Linked DNA regions of Homo sapiens: all the other regions are linked to region 1. The links are contacts of gene promoters, found by promoter capture Hi-C in blood cells and fetal thymus (Javierre and others, 2016). All regions are on one chromosome and are shown on one strand. The core of a region is centred on a gene start or on the middle of the fragment in contact, and the rest is flanking DNA. Distances in the headings are between cores, read along the strand shown.

Evidence for each region. Contacts are between HindIII fragments. The CHiCAGO score rates a contact against its expected background, and 5 or more counts as called.
Region 2: a contact is called between a fragment that was not itself captured here and the fragment with the promoter of FGF9 in region 1, in 4 of 17 cell types (M2 macrophages, M1 macrophages, M0 macrophages and 1 more). The highest score is 8.8, in M2 macrophages.
Region 3: a fragment that was not itself captured here is called in contact with the fragment with the promoter of FGF9 in region 1 in 5 of 17 cell types (M0 macrophages, M1 macrophages, M2 macrophages and 2 more); the score reaches 10.7 in M0 macrophages.
Region 4: a contact is called between a fragment that was not itself captured here and the fragment with the promoter of FGF9 in region 1, in 2 of 17 cell types (erythroblasts and M2 macrophages). The highest score is 7.0, in erythroblasts.

The regions. Positions count from the first base shown.
Region 1 is chr13:21,669,424-21,672,482 of GRCh38, forward strand. It overlaps FGF9 (fibroblast growth factor 9), which reads left to right and starts at 1,650. Exons shown (of 3, transcript NM_002010.3): 1 at 1,650-2,766. The coding sequence starts at 2,490. RefSeq lists silencers at 468-727, 1,508-1,557, 1,578-1,637. The HindIII fragment of the contact is 3,792 bases long and covers 1-3,059 here.
Region 2 is chr13:22,806,883-22,809,941 of GRCh38, forward strand. No RefSeq gene overlaps it. Among named protein-coding and RNA genes, the nearest start is that of LINC00621, 110 kb to the right of the region's middle. The HindIII fragment of the contact is 498 bases long and covers 1,352-1,849 here.
Region 3 is chr13:22,790,743-22,793,801 of GRCh38, forward strand. No RefSeq gene overlaps it. Among named protein-coding and RNA genes, the nearest start is that of LINC00621, 120 kb to the right of the region's middle. The HindIII fragment of the contact is 1,218 bases long and covers 1,009-2,226 here.
Region 4 is chr13:22,761,939-22,764,997 of GRCh38, forward strand. No RefSeq gene overlaps it. Among named protein-coding and RNA genes, the nearest start is that of LINC00621, 150 kb to the right of the region's middle. The HindIII fragment of the contact is 4,450 bases long and covers 1-3,059 here.

The sequences.
Region 1 (3,059 bases), core at 400-2,899:
GGGAGGACCACTCGCTCTTCTCTCCTTCCTCCTCGCCCGGGCCGGAGCACGCCTTCCTCCCCGGAGGGCAGGGGAAGGTCGCTCCAGGTCGCTGGCACCTCCAGCGCCCCCGAAATCTGCAAATTCATCGCTCCCTTTCGTCTTCAGGCGAAGCCCTCCCGTCCGGAGTAGGGCCAGCCCCAGTTATGCATCTCCAGCCTTTAGCTGACTACTAAGGCGGATCCGACTTCTCCCCCATAACCAGGTTTTGATTCGCTTCCCCACCGCAGGGGTTCAGTCTCTGCTTTCGACTTTGCTTCTCAGTTGCACGCCCCGCAGTGTGGAGCTGCGCTCAAGTCTCGGCAACTTTCACCATCTTGACCCGAGAGTCGGGCCGTTTCTAAGACAATGTGAACAAAGAGGAGCAGGGGGAGGGAAGGGGGGCCCCGCGGGAGGGCTGTGGGCGAGTGTGTGTGTGTGTGTGTGTGTGTGTGTGTGTGTGTGTGTGTTGGGGGGCGCCGCGCTCCGCGCCCGCCGCCACTGGGGATCCGGGCGCAGGCAGGCTGTCCCGGGCGCAGAGCGCGCCGCCTCCAGTCTCTCTGGCGGGCCCGGCCCGGCAGGGCCCCTGGCGGCCCCCGGAGGCGGGTTTCTTTGTCCCTGACTCCCGCTGGGCGCGAAGGCCGCCGGCGGCTAACAGAAACCCGAGCCCGCGCAACGGAGCTCAGGCTTCCACGTGCGGCCCCGCAGGGCAGAGCAGGAAGGAGCGGCTGCAGCCCCGGGGCGCCCCGCAAGCATCCAGTGCCCGGCCCTCCCAGCTCCGCGGCGGGCTTCGGACGGTGGAGTGAGACACCAGAACTCGCCTTTCGCTTCCCCGAGCCGATGCACGGCTTGGGATGGCGCCGCTCGTCCTAAGCAGCGTGGTTTGAGGGCGAGAAGACGCCTACTGGAGCGCTCCCCTCCACCCAGACTCCCGAAGACGCGCGCCCGAGTCGAAGTCGGGGACAGAGAAGGTTCTCTGGCGCCCCCCTGCCGACTGCTTTGCGGCCGCCGGGACCCGAGCAGCGGGGCGGGACCTAAACATAGCCCCAACCCAAAGATGCCCAGCAGAACGCTCCAAACAAAACAGAAACGGTGGCCGCATCTGCGTGTGTGTGTGTGTGTGTGTGTGTGACGGGGGAGAGGAGTTGATCTTACCTGAAACATAGTTTGCGCTTCTGTGTGTGTGGCCGAAGAATGGAAGAGAAACTGCCATGGCCATCCGAGTCCATTAAATCAACTCCCCTTCCCTCCGACTCTCTCAACTCAGTCATATTCTATAATACAACGCAAGGTTACAGAGCCCCAGTGAAAACTAGTTTCCCAGTTTCACTCTGACCCTCCATCAATGTAGCCAGCCAGCTAGATTGTAGGTTACCGGCTTCTATTCTGCAGGAGAACTTTGAGTCTCGGGAGACTCAGGGTTTCTTCCTCCCGCCTCTCGCAGTGCATCTTTCATTTGCTTTTCTTTGTAAAGCCAGGGCTCCTCGACTGCCTCCCAGGAAGTCCTGCGCTCTGGCGCGCCGCACCTCGCCTGCCGCAGAGCGGCGCGGGCAGTAAGCCGGGCGCTAGGACCGCGGGGAGCCCGGGCTGCGGCGGCGCTACCTTAAACCCAGCCCAATGCCGCTGCCTGCGCCACTCTGCGCGCCGGCGGGGGCTGCGCAGGAGGAGCGCTCCGCCCGGCTACAACGCTCCGCGAGCCGGCGCGGCAACACCTGTTCGCGGCAGCCTGGGCGGCACGCGAGCTCCCGGACGCGGCTCTCCTCGCTCGCCGCTCGCCACCCGTTCTAAGCCAATGGACATCTGCCGAGCCTCTGGAGAATCCTGGATACTAGCTTTGGACGCCTAAAGTTTCTTCTTCTTTTTGTTTTATTATTATTATCATTTTTTGGAGGGGGGACCGGGAGGGGAGATTTGTCGCCGCCACCAACGTGAGATTTTTTTTTCCCCTTGAAGGATTCATGCTGATGTCTGCAGAGTCGGTTAGAGAGTAAAAACAGCGCATGCCTTCCTGGAGTCAGGATCCGTAAATTCTGACGTAGCCCGTGCATCTTAAAAATCCCTATAATAACGCCTAGGCATTTAAGTTGCTATGGTCATTCTGATCTCAAACCAAATGGAGAAACTACGGATTTTTTTTCCTTATTACGGTCGGATGGGATGAAGACCTTCCTGCCTGCTAAGAGCTGGGGATCTATCTATAGAGATACATAGATATGTTTATCAATATGTCAGTGTGTGAGTATAAAGTGGTGGTTTCTTAGACTATCAGTGGTTTGACCTTGAACCTGTGCCAGTGAAACAGCAGATTACTTTTATTTATGCATTTAATGGATTGAAGAAAAGAACCTTTTTTTTCTCTCTCTCTCTGCAACTGCAGTAAGGGAGGGGAGTTGGATATACCTCGCCTAATATCTCCTGGGTTGACACCATCATTATTGTTTATTCTTGTGCTCCAAAAGCCGAGTCCTCTGATGGCTCCCTTAGGTGAAGTTGGGAACTATTTCGGTGTGCAGGATGCGGTACCGTTTGGGAATGTGCCCGTGTTGCCGGTGGACAGCCCGGTTTTGTTAAGTGACCACCTGGGTCAGTCCGAAGCAGGGGGGCTCCCCAGGGGACCCGCAGTCACGGACTTGGATCATTTAAAGGGGATTCTCAGGCGGAGGCAGCTATACTGCAGGACTGGATTTCACTTAGAAATCTTCCCCAATGGTACTATCCAGGGAACCAGGAAAGACCACAGCCGATTTGGTAGGTATACCATTAACCCTTTAGTGTCCATGAGATGACATGTTGAAATTATAACTACCAAGAAGGTGGTGGCCGGGTGGGGGACGTGGGAAGGGTTCTCCCCTCCTCCCCTCTTTCTCTGTATCTCTGTCTCTCTCTCTCTCTGTCTTGCCAGCTCCGAAAAAAAAATGCCTCCGGAATTGCAGATCTGCTGCTGGCACTGATGCAAGTATACACTGAAAGGCCCCCTACTTTTAATTTAAAGGGGGGCATAATTTATAAATATAATACAAGTTTCCAGTTCTTTTGCATCA
Region 2 (3,059 bases), core at 351-2,850, 1.1 Mb after region 1:
ATACCGCTTCACACCTGTTAGAATAGCTATTACCAAAAAGATGAGATAACAAGTGTTGGCGAGGATGCTGAGAAAAGGGTATCCTTGCACACTGTTGGTAGGAATGTAAGTTGATACAGCTGTTATGAAAAACCATATGGAGTTTCCTCAAAAAAATTAAAAACAGAACTACCATGTGATGCAGAAATCCCAACACTGATTATATAACCAAAGAAAATAGAATCAGTATGCCAAAAATATATGTGCACTGCATGTTCATTCCAGCATTATTCACAGTAGCCAAGGTATGGAAACAACATAAACAACATAAGTATCCATCAATGAATGCATGGATAAAGAAATGTGGAATATACACGCAACATAATGTTAGCCTTAAAAAAGAAGAAAATCCTGTCATTTGTGACAACATGGATAAAACTGAAAGACACTATGTTAAATGAAATAAGCCAGACACAAAAAAATACTGCTTGATCTCACTTCTATGTGGAATCTAAAAAAGCTGAACTCAGATGTAGAAAATAGAAGGAGATTAGCAAGGGTTGGGGTTTGGGGAGAGGTTGGGGTGATGCTGGTCAAAGGATACAAAATTTCAGTTAGGAAGAATAAGGTCAAGAGACCTATTGTACAAGATTGTGACTATAGTCAATATTGTGTTGTATTTTTTAAAATTACTAAGAATTGCTAGATTTTAAGTGTCCTCACCACAAAATAAAATGTGAGGTAATGCACATGTTAATTAGCTCAATTTAGCCATTCAAAAATGTGTGTATATATATATATATATTTCAAAACATCATGTTGTACATAATTATATACAATTTTGTCAATTAAAAATAAATAAGTAAATAAGAAATGTGTACCAAAAAACAGGAAGAAAGAACAAAGGGTGTACACTATCTGATTTCAAGACATACTATAAAGCTACCCTAGTCAGGACAGTGTGACACTGGAATAAAGATGGACAAGTATAGTTCAATGGAGCAGAATATACAGTGCAGAAGTAAATTCACACTTATGAGGTTAACTAATTTCCAACAAAGGCTGATTTCCAACAAAGGCACTGAAATAATTCAATGAGCAAAGGGAAATCTTTTTAATAAATACTTTGGAAAAAATGAATAGCTACAAGGGAAAGCTAAAATAAAATTCAACCTCTATCTCACAGAGTATACAAAAGTTAATTCAAGATGGATCACAAACCCAACATAATAACTAAAACTTTAACATTTTGAGGGGGAAAAAAACATGAGAGAAGTTCTTTGTAGCCAAATAGATATTTCTTGGACTCAACACAGAAATTACTAATTATAAAGGCAAAATAATTACAAGTTGGATTACATTCAAATAAAAAAGCTTCTGTTAATCAAAAAACATACTCCTAAGAAAATGAGTAGGCAAGTAACAGAGAAAATGGGAGAAAATGTATGCAAAACATTTATCTGACAAAGAACTGTTATCCCAAATACACAAAAGATAGCTACAACTCCGTGAAAAAGATAAACAACCCAATTTTAAAATATGCAAAAGACTCGATAAACACTTTAAAATGGAAGACATACAAATAGCCAAAACGCATATGAAAAGATAGTCAACATTATTCATCATTTGAAAAATGCATATAAAAGCACGATATACCACTATGCTACCAGAATGTAGAAAATTGAAAAAAAAACAACAGGGGCTGTATGTAGAGCAAACAGCAATCTCATACATTAATAGTTGTTATATGAAAATAGTACAGCCACTTTGAAAACATTTGTGGCAGTGTCTTATAAAATAAACCTTTACCTATACTCTGGCCCGACAACTCCACACCGAAATATTTCGCAAAAAAAAAGTATGTTAACAAAGCTTGAACAACAAGATTTATAGCAACTTTATTTATTATGTCTCAAACAACTAAAATGTTCATTAACCAGAGATCAGATTTTAAAGTTGTAGTACATTTCTATTTTTTTTTTTTTTTTTTTTTTGAGACTAAGTGTCGCTCTTGTACCCCAGGCTGGAGTGCAATGGCGCAATCTCAGCTCACTGCAACAAACGCCTCCCAGGTTCAAGCGATTCTCTTGCCTCAGCCGCCCAAGTAGCTGGGATTACATGTGCCTGCCACCACACTTGGCTAATTTTTGTATTTTTTATTTACTTATTTATTTTTAGACGGAGTTTTGCTCTTGTTGCCCAGGCTGGAGTGCAACGGCGCAATCTCGGCTCACCGCAATCTCGGCTCACCGCAACCTCCACCTCCTGGGTTCAAGTGATTCTCCTGTCTCAGCGTCCCTAGTAGCTGGGACTACAGGCATGCGCCAACACGCCCGACTAATTTTGTATTTTTAGTAGAGATGGGGTTTCTCCATGTTGGTCAGGCTGGTCTTGAACTCCCAACCTCAGGTGATCCGCCTGCCTCAGCCTCCCAAAATGTTGGGATTACAGGCATGAGCCACTGTGCCCGGCCTCCTAATTTTTGTATTTTTAGTAGAGACGAGGTTTCACCATGTTGGCCAGGCTGGTCTTGAACTCCTGACCTCAGGTGATCCACCTGCCTTGACCTCCCAAAGTGCTGGGATTACAGGCATGAGCCATCGCGCCTGGCCAAAATTGTTGTACATTTCTAGAATGGAATATTACCAAAGAAGAAATACTATTGCTACATGCAACAATATAGATTTAACAAGCTACACACACAAATATGATGCTAGCTACCTGAAATTCTAGGTTATAAAAAACTATGGTTAAAAAAACCAGAAATTGTGTTTTGCTCTTGAGAGAAGGAATTAACTGGGGAGAGGCTCGAGAAACATCCTGTAATGATAGAAAATTTCTATATCTTGGTTAAGATAATAAACAAACAACCCCATTAAAAAGTGGACAAAGGACATGAACAAACACTTTTCAAAAGATGATATACAAGTGGCCAAAAAGCATATGAAAAAAGCTCATCATCACTAACTATTAGAGAAATGCAAATCAAAACCACAATAAGATACCATCTCACACCAGTCAGAATGACTATTATTAAAAAGTCAAAGAATAACAGATGCTGGTGAGGTTGCAGAGAAAGG
Region 3 (3,059 bases), core at 368-2,867, 1.1 Mb after region 1:
GCTCTAATTTAAGAAAATTAATATTAAGAAAATATTTCAAAACATATACTTTTTAAAATGGCATATTAGAGAATATTTGTTCATGTTTAAAAGATTTATTTATTTTAACAACAAAACACAGCTTTAATCACAAAGTATAGTTATTTTTTAACAACTTTATTGAGATACAATTTACATACCATAAAGTTCACTCATTTAAATGTACAATTTAATGGGTTTTAATATATTTACAAAGTTTTCCAACCATCACCATAATCTGTTTTAGAACATTTTTATTGTCCCAGAAAGAAATGTACCAATTAGCAGTCACTCCTCATTCTCCCTGACTCCAGCCCTCAGCAACAAGTAATATACTTTCTGCCTCTAAAGAATTGAGTAGTTCATGTAAGTGGGCTTTTTTCAAAACCACCACATGCTGTATGAACTCAAGGACATAGTACTAAGGGCTTCTTTCCCTGATCACAATGTCTTTGAGTTCCATTCATGTTGCAGCATGTATCAGTACTTAAATCCTTTAAATTACCAAATAATATTCCATTGTGTGGATGTACCACATTTGTGTACCCAGCCATCAGTTGAAATTTTAGCCACTGAAGAAGTGCAAACAAAACCACAAGATAACACTACATATCCACTAAATGACTATATTTAAAAAGACAGGCAATAGCAAGTGTTGGGAACATGTGGAAAAACTGGATTCTTCATGCTTTGTTGGCAAGAACGTAAAATTATACAACCTCTTTGTAAAAGAGTATAGCAGTTCTTCAGAACGTTACCTACCCAGTTACCATACCATCCTCAACTCCACTCCCAGTGTACGTTCAAGAGATACGAAAACGTACGTCCACATAAAGACATGTACATGAATGTTTGTAGCAACACCATGCATATTAGTGAACATTTATTTTACACGCCTTTTTTACAAACATATTTCTAATATAAAATTTGATATGTCTAAATTCTATGCAACTTACCAAATATCCCATGTGACAGAATATGTTTCAGGGAAGCTTTGGAGAGGTATATTGTGATATAACATAGCCTGGTATCAATTATCAGTTTCTTGAAGAACAAACAGCTTTTTCTCTTGCTTGTTTTTGTTTTGATTTTAAATCTCATCAGGGAAGCATCATTAAAGTAGAATTTCTATTTTCTGAAAAAGCCCTCATCAGCCATTATTAAGTAGAATGGTGTCACTAAATATGACAACATAAAGAAGCATGTTACTATTATTATTATTTTGATGAGAGAGTACTTTGTCTTTGATACTTTAGCCAGAGTTACATTCTTCATCTTCAGAGAGCTCCCCTCTTGATTTTAGTGCCCTAGTAGGTCACCAAGTCAGCAAGCTCTGAAGACATCTAAGTTGCCTACACGTTTTTCATTTCTTGCTTATTTTCACTTCGTTTCTCACAGCCATTGCTCTATCTGCCTTTGTGTGTTGCTTGAGCAAGGCTGCAGGCTTCTTAAAGATTGCATTCCAATGACTCTGCTTTCTCCTTATGTCTACCTCAGGGTCAGGGCGTTCCAAGGTCAGGAAGAAAAGGGAGGAATAATTGTATACTGAAAAATATAAACAGACCTGTTTTGCTGGGGTACTCAGAAATAAGGTAAGGAGGTGCCGCTGCAGAGAGCAGAAATGGGTAAATTCCATCGGTCCATTTCATCCACAGTTTAACCTCTTCCTGATCAGATCAGTCAGTTCCCACTGCTTTTCGTTTTTAGTGAAGCACAGTTTTACAAGACGATCTTAGGGACTTGGGACATAAAACTTGAAAAGCATTCTCAATGGTAAAAATTACATGCATTTTTGTGAATGTGTCAGTCACTCCTTCCTTGTACCCTACACGTGCCTAGACTAGTGCCAGGCACACAGCAGTTTCTCAATACATGTCTTTAAAACTTATGAACTCCAAAAATGAGGAGAAAAGCTGAAGCTGGAGACAGGAACATATTCTGCAAGTCCTAGGATTAAAATAGGAGAGTGAAGTGATCGGGTTTGGGTTTCAGAAGGAATTCTCCTGTCTCAGTGTTGAAGATGGGTTGGAGAAGAACAAAGGTAAGACCATCTATGTAGAGAAAATGCACTTTTTGCCTAAACCAGAGGAATAAGGAGGAAGAGGTGGCATTCTACAGATGTGAAGGCAATTTATCTGTGAAGCTGAGGGACTCGGGATGTGGAGGGAGAAAGGGAGGGAAGCACCCAAGATTGTTGTGCAGGAGCTAAGCTTAGCTGGGGACCACGGGAGGCGCCTTTACCTGGGGCGGGACCTTCCTTAGGTGGGGGTTGAGGAAGAAGCGGCCAGGCTTGGCTTCCATCGAGGTTTCTGTATCTGGGTGATACCTGGTGATGTGTCGACAGGCAGTGGGTTAAGAAGGCCTCAATTTCAGGAAAGGACTATGGCCTGGTCACATACATTAGCGAGCTGTCTACATAGAGGTGGCAGTTTACATCTTGAGAATGGTTGCTTCCAGGAAAAGAGTATAGGATGAGAAAAGCAGTAGGAATGAAGAATGAAAGCCCCGCCTCAGGCGTGGGTGAAACCTTTTACCATAACCAGAGGTGCTGGGCCATTGGGAAAATGTGTCATTATTAATAAAGCTTCCGCCACCCCTCTTCTGGGTTGAATTTTTCCCCCCATCAAACATCCTATGTTGAGGTCCTAACCCCCAACACCTCAGAATGGGGCCCTGTTTGGAAAGAGGTTCCTTAGAGGTAATCAGTCAAGACGACGTCACACTGGAGTAGGATGGGCCCCTAATCTAACACGACTGTGTTCTTATAAAAAGAAGGCCAGGTGAAGAAGCCGACACACAGGAGAACGCTGCATGGAGACTGGAGTTCTGCTGCCAAGGAATCGGTGGAAGCCAGGAAAGAGCCTGCAACAGATCCTTCCGCCGCACCTCCAGAAGAAGCACAGCCCTGGGGACTGCTGGATCTTACACTTCTGGCTTCCAGAACAGTGAGTCAATACATTTCTGTTGTTTTAGCGGCTCAGTTTGCGGTCCTTTGTTGTGCCGACTCCAGGAAACTGGACAATCCCCATGCCGTGCAAAGC
Region 4 (3,059 bases), core at 266-2,765, 1.1 Mb after region 1:
ACTTAATGAATATAGAGTTTCAGTTTTACAAGATGAAAAGAGCTATGAATATGGATGGTGGTGTTGGTTGTGCAATATTATTAATGTATTTAATAGCACTGAACTCTGCACTTAAAAATGGTTAAGATGGTAACTCTTATGTGTATTTTTAACACACTAAAAAGTTGGAAAAAATTTTGGAAAATTTGAAAAAAAAATTAAAGCACATATAAGGTTTATCCTGAGAGATAAATTTTGCTTTCCCCAAACTTACCTAAAAATATAAACAGTGTAGAGAATCAATTGCAGTATAATTCAAATTGAAGAGGTAAGTTCTAAATACATACTCCATGCCTTGTTCTGTGTCAAGTACTAGATATATGAAGATAAATATTTCTGACATGCAAGAATGTCAATCTACTATAGAACTTATAGCACTTGTTACAGAATCTAGACTAAAGAATTACACAGAGACACTGTTTATTGTTTGGACAATTAATTTTGTAATAGTAAAAGCAATCCTACATTGAGCACCTATTATAAGTCAGTTAGTTTTCCTATGTTATCTCATCTTTCCAACAATACTGTCAGATTGAGATGATCATTCCCGCTTTACAGGTGTGGAAAGTGGGACTTCAACAGTTAGTTAGCAAGTCTCAAGTCCCAAATTAGGTTGTGGTGGAGCTGGCTTTCCAACCCATTTTTTTGTTAGTTTTTTTTTTTTGTTTTGTGTTTTTTTGTTTTTTGTTTTTTGTTTTTAAGACAGAGTCTTGCTCTGTCGCCCAGGCTGAAGTGCAGTGGCACGATCTCGGCTCACCACAAGCTCCGCCTCCCGGGTTCACGCCATTCTCCTGCCTCAGCCTCCCGAGTAGCTGGGACTACAGGGGCCCGCCAGCACGCCCGGCTAATTTGTTTGTATTTTTAGTAGAATGGGGTTTCACGGTGTTATCCAGGATGGTCTCGAGCTCCTGACCTCGTGATCCACCCGCCTCGGCCTCCTAAAGTGCTGGGATTACAGGCATGAGCCACCGCGCCCGGCCAGTTTTGGTTTAATTTTAACACTTATGCCTTTCTCATGACACCAAATGACATCCCTAGAAAATTAATTAAATTTCACCTGCTTAGTCTCATCTCCCCAAATACACAGTGAGCTATAGATTACTGTCACATTCCCATGAAATGCATCCTCACAGGGAGGGCAATTATCACTGGGTACCATGGCTGACTCATCTGCAATATTTTGGGGTGGACAACCTTTACATCACCCAAATCACAGCACAGAGAGGTTACTTGCTCTGAAAATGCTTGGCTATCTTGCTAAAGATTTGTCTAAGCAGTCAGTAATAATCTCTGCGGAATTACAAAGCAATTTCTTCTGATGTTTCCATCAGAGACTTCTCTCTGTCAACATTCTACGCCATTAAATCACAAGCAAGGATAATGGTACCAGATTTCACTTTGGTTGTAAGTAGAATAATAAATGGTCTCCTTAAATGGGTGAGAACTATGTGTGTACGTGTGTGTGTGTGTGTGTGTGTGTGTGTGTGTGTGTTTCAAAGAAATCTTTCAGTGTGTTTATTCTTTGAAAAGAATTCTTGGTACTTCTTGCCAAGGCTTTGGGGTTTCTATCTTGAACAAAAGTAACTTGACTTTCACACGGGTTTGCAGGAGGTCTGAGCACTTAATTACAGTCCATTATCCGCTTTCATTATCTTTCCTCCTGCCTGAATGAGCTCAACAATTTCCAGACATTACTACTTTCATACAATTTTTCATTTTCTCTAATGTCATCATTTTATCACCAAGTTTTTGATCTTTACAGTTCATCTAAGTTTTATACTTTCAGAGAGGCACTTCATTGTAAAAGCACCTTAATTTTTTTCCAGCTTAAAATTTAACTCTTGCTTTACCTTATATTTCCTTTTCATCAAAGTATTTGATTTCTTTTAAAAACATATTAAAATATAATTCCTTGAAACTAATTAGAAAATGTCTCCTTGTACCCAACCTAATTTGGATATACTAAAAATGTGAACATTGTGCTAACTCATTTTCCTCTTTTTGGACAATAATAAATATTCCATAGGAGAAAATGTTGTATAGATATCAAAGAGGTGTCTATAAATACTCTTCCCAGACACTAACATCGACTCCTGTCTAGACAGATTCATTTTAAACTAGTTTTGAAGCCATCTAACTCTACTAATATGCATTCCTTCCAGAGTCCTCCAACCTATTATAAAATCATTCAACTCAGTGATTCTCCAGGAAGGTGACCTTAACCCACCAGAGTCTTGATATCTACTCGGGTTGTTATCTTATCTGAGAATTACACTTAAATTTGGTTGAGATGACCTTTTTTAAACAAAGTTGATTGGCTTATACTTAGTATGTTATGGTATTCAGGCACTAATTCACCATTTCCCCTAGAATGTTTTGAAGTATTTGCCCTGATATGTTAAGCAGCATTGTATTTTTATTTAAAGAGGATTCTAGCATCCCTTCCTTGCCAATTCTTCAGAATAACAGGTTATTAATATTTGGAGATAGTGTGTTCCCATAGAGGGATGCCAAAAATGTTAATAGAGAACTATGAAAATATGCATACGTAGGTGTGTGTACACACACAAGTGTAAAAAAAGAGGAATAAAGAAAGAACATGAGACTACAACTCACTACAACACAAGCTATACATTTCAAATAGCAGACTACAACAATACACTAACACTGTGCACAACAAAGAAAGTAAAATTTATGGGAAGTTCCCCCTTACATTTGCAAATGATTGTTGCGATATTAAAGAAAACTTTTAAGCTGCAGAAAGCAAATTATACTGCATTTCAAATTGTAATATTTAATTGCTGAAACATTTGAGCCTCAGAGATAATCTGCACCAAAGAGAATCCGTGCCCTTTTCATGAAGAGAATTGAGCAGAATTCACCTAATCTATACAGATATAGAATATATACCTTTTTATTTTTTAATTTTTTATCTTTTATTATTTTTTCTTTTGAGACAGAATCTGTCTTTGTCACCCAGGCTAGAGTGCAGTGGCGCCATCTCAGCTCACTGCAACCTC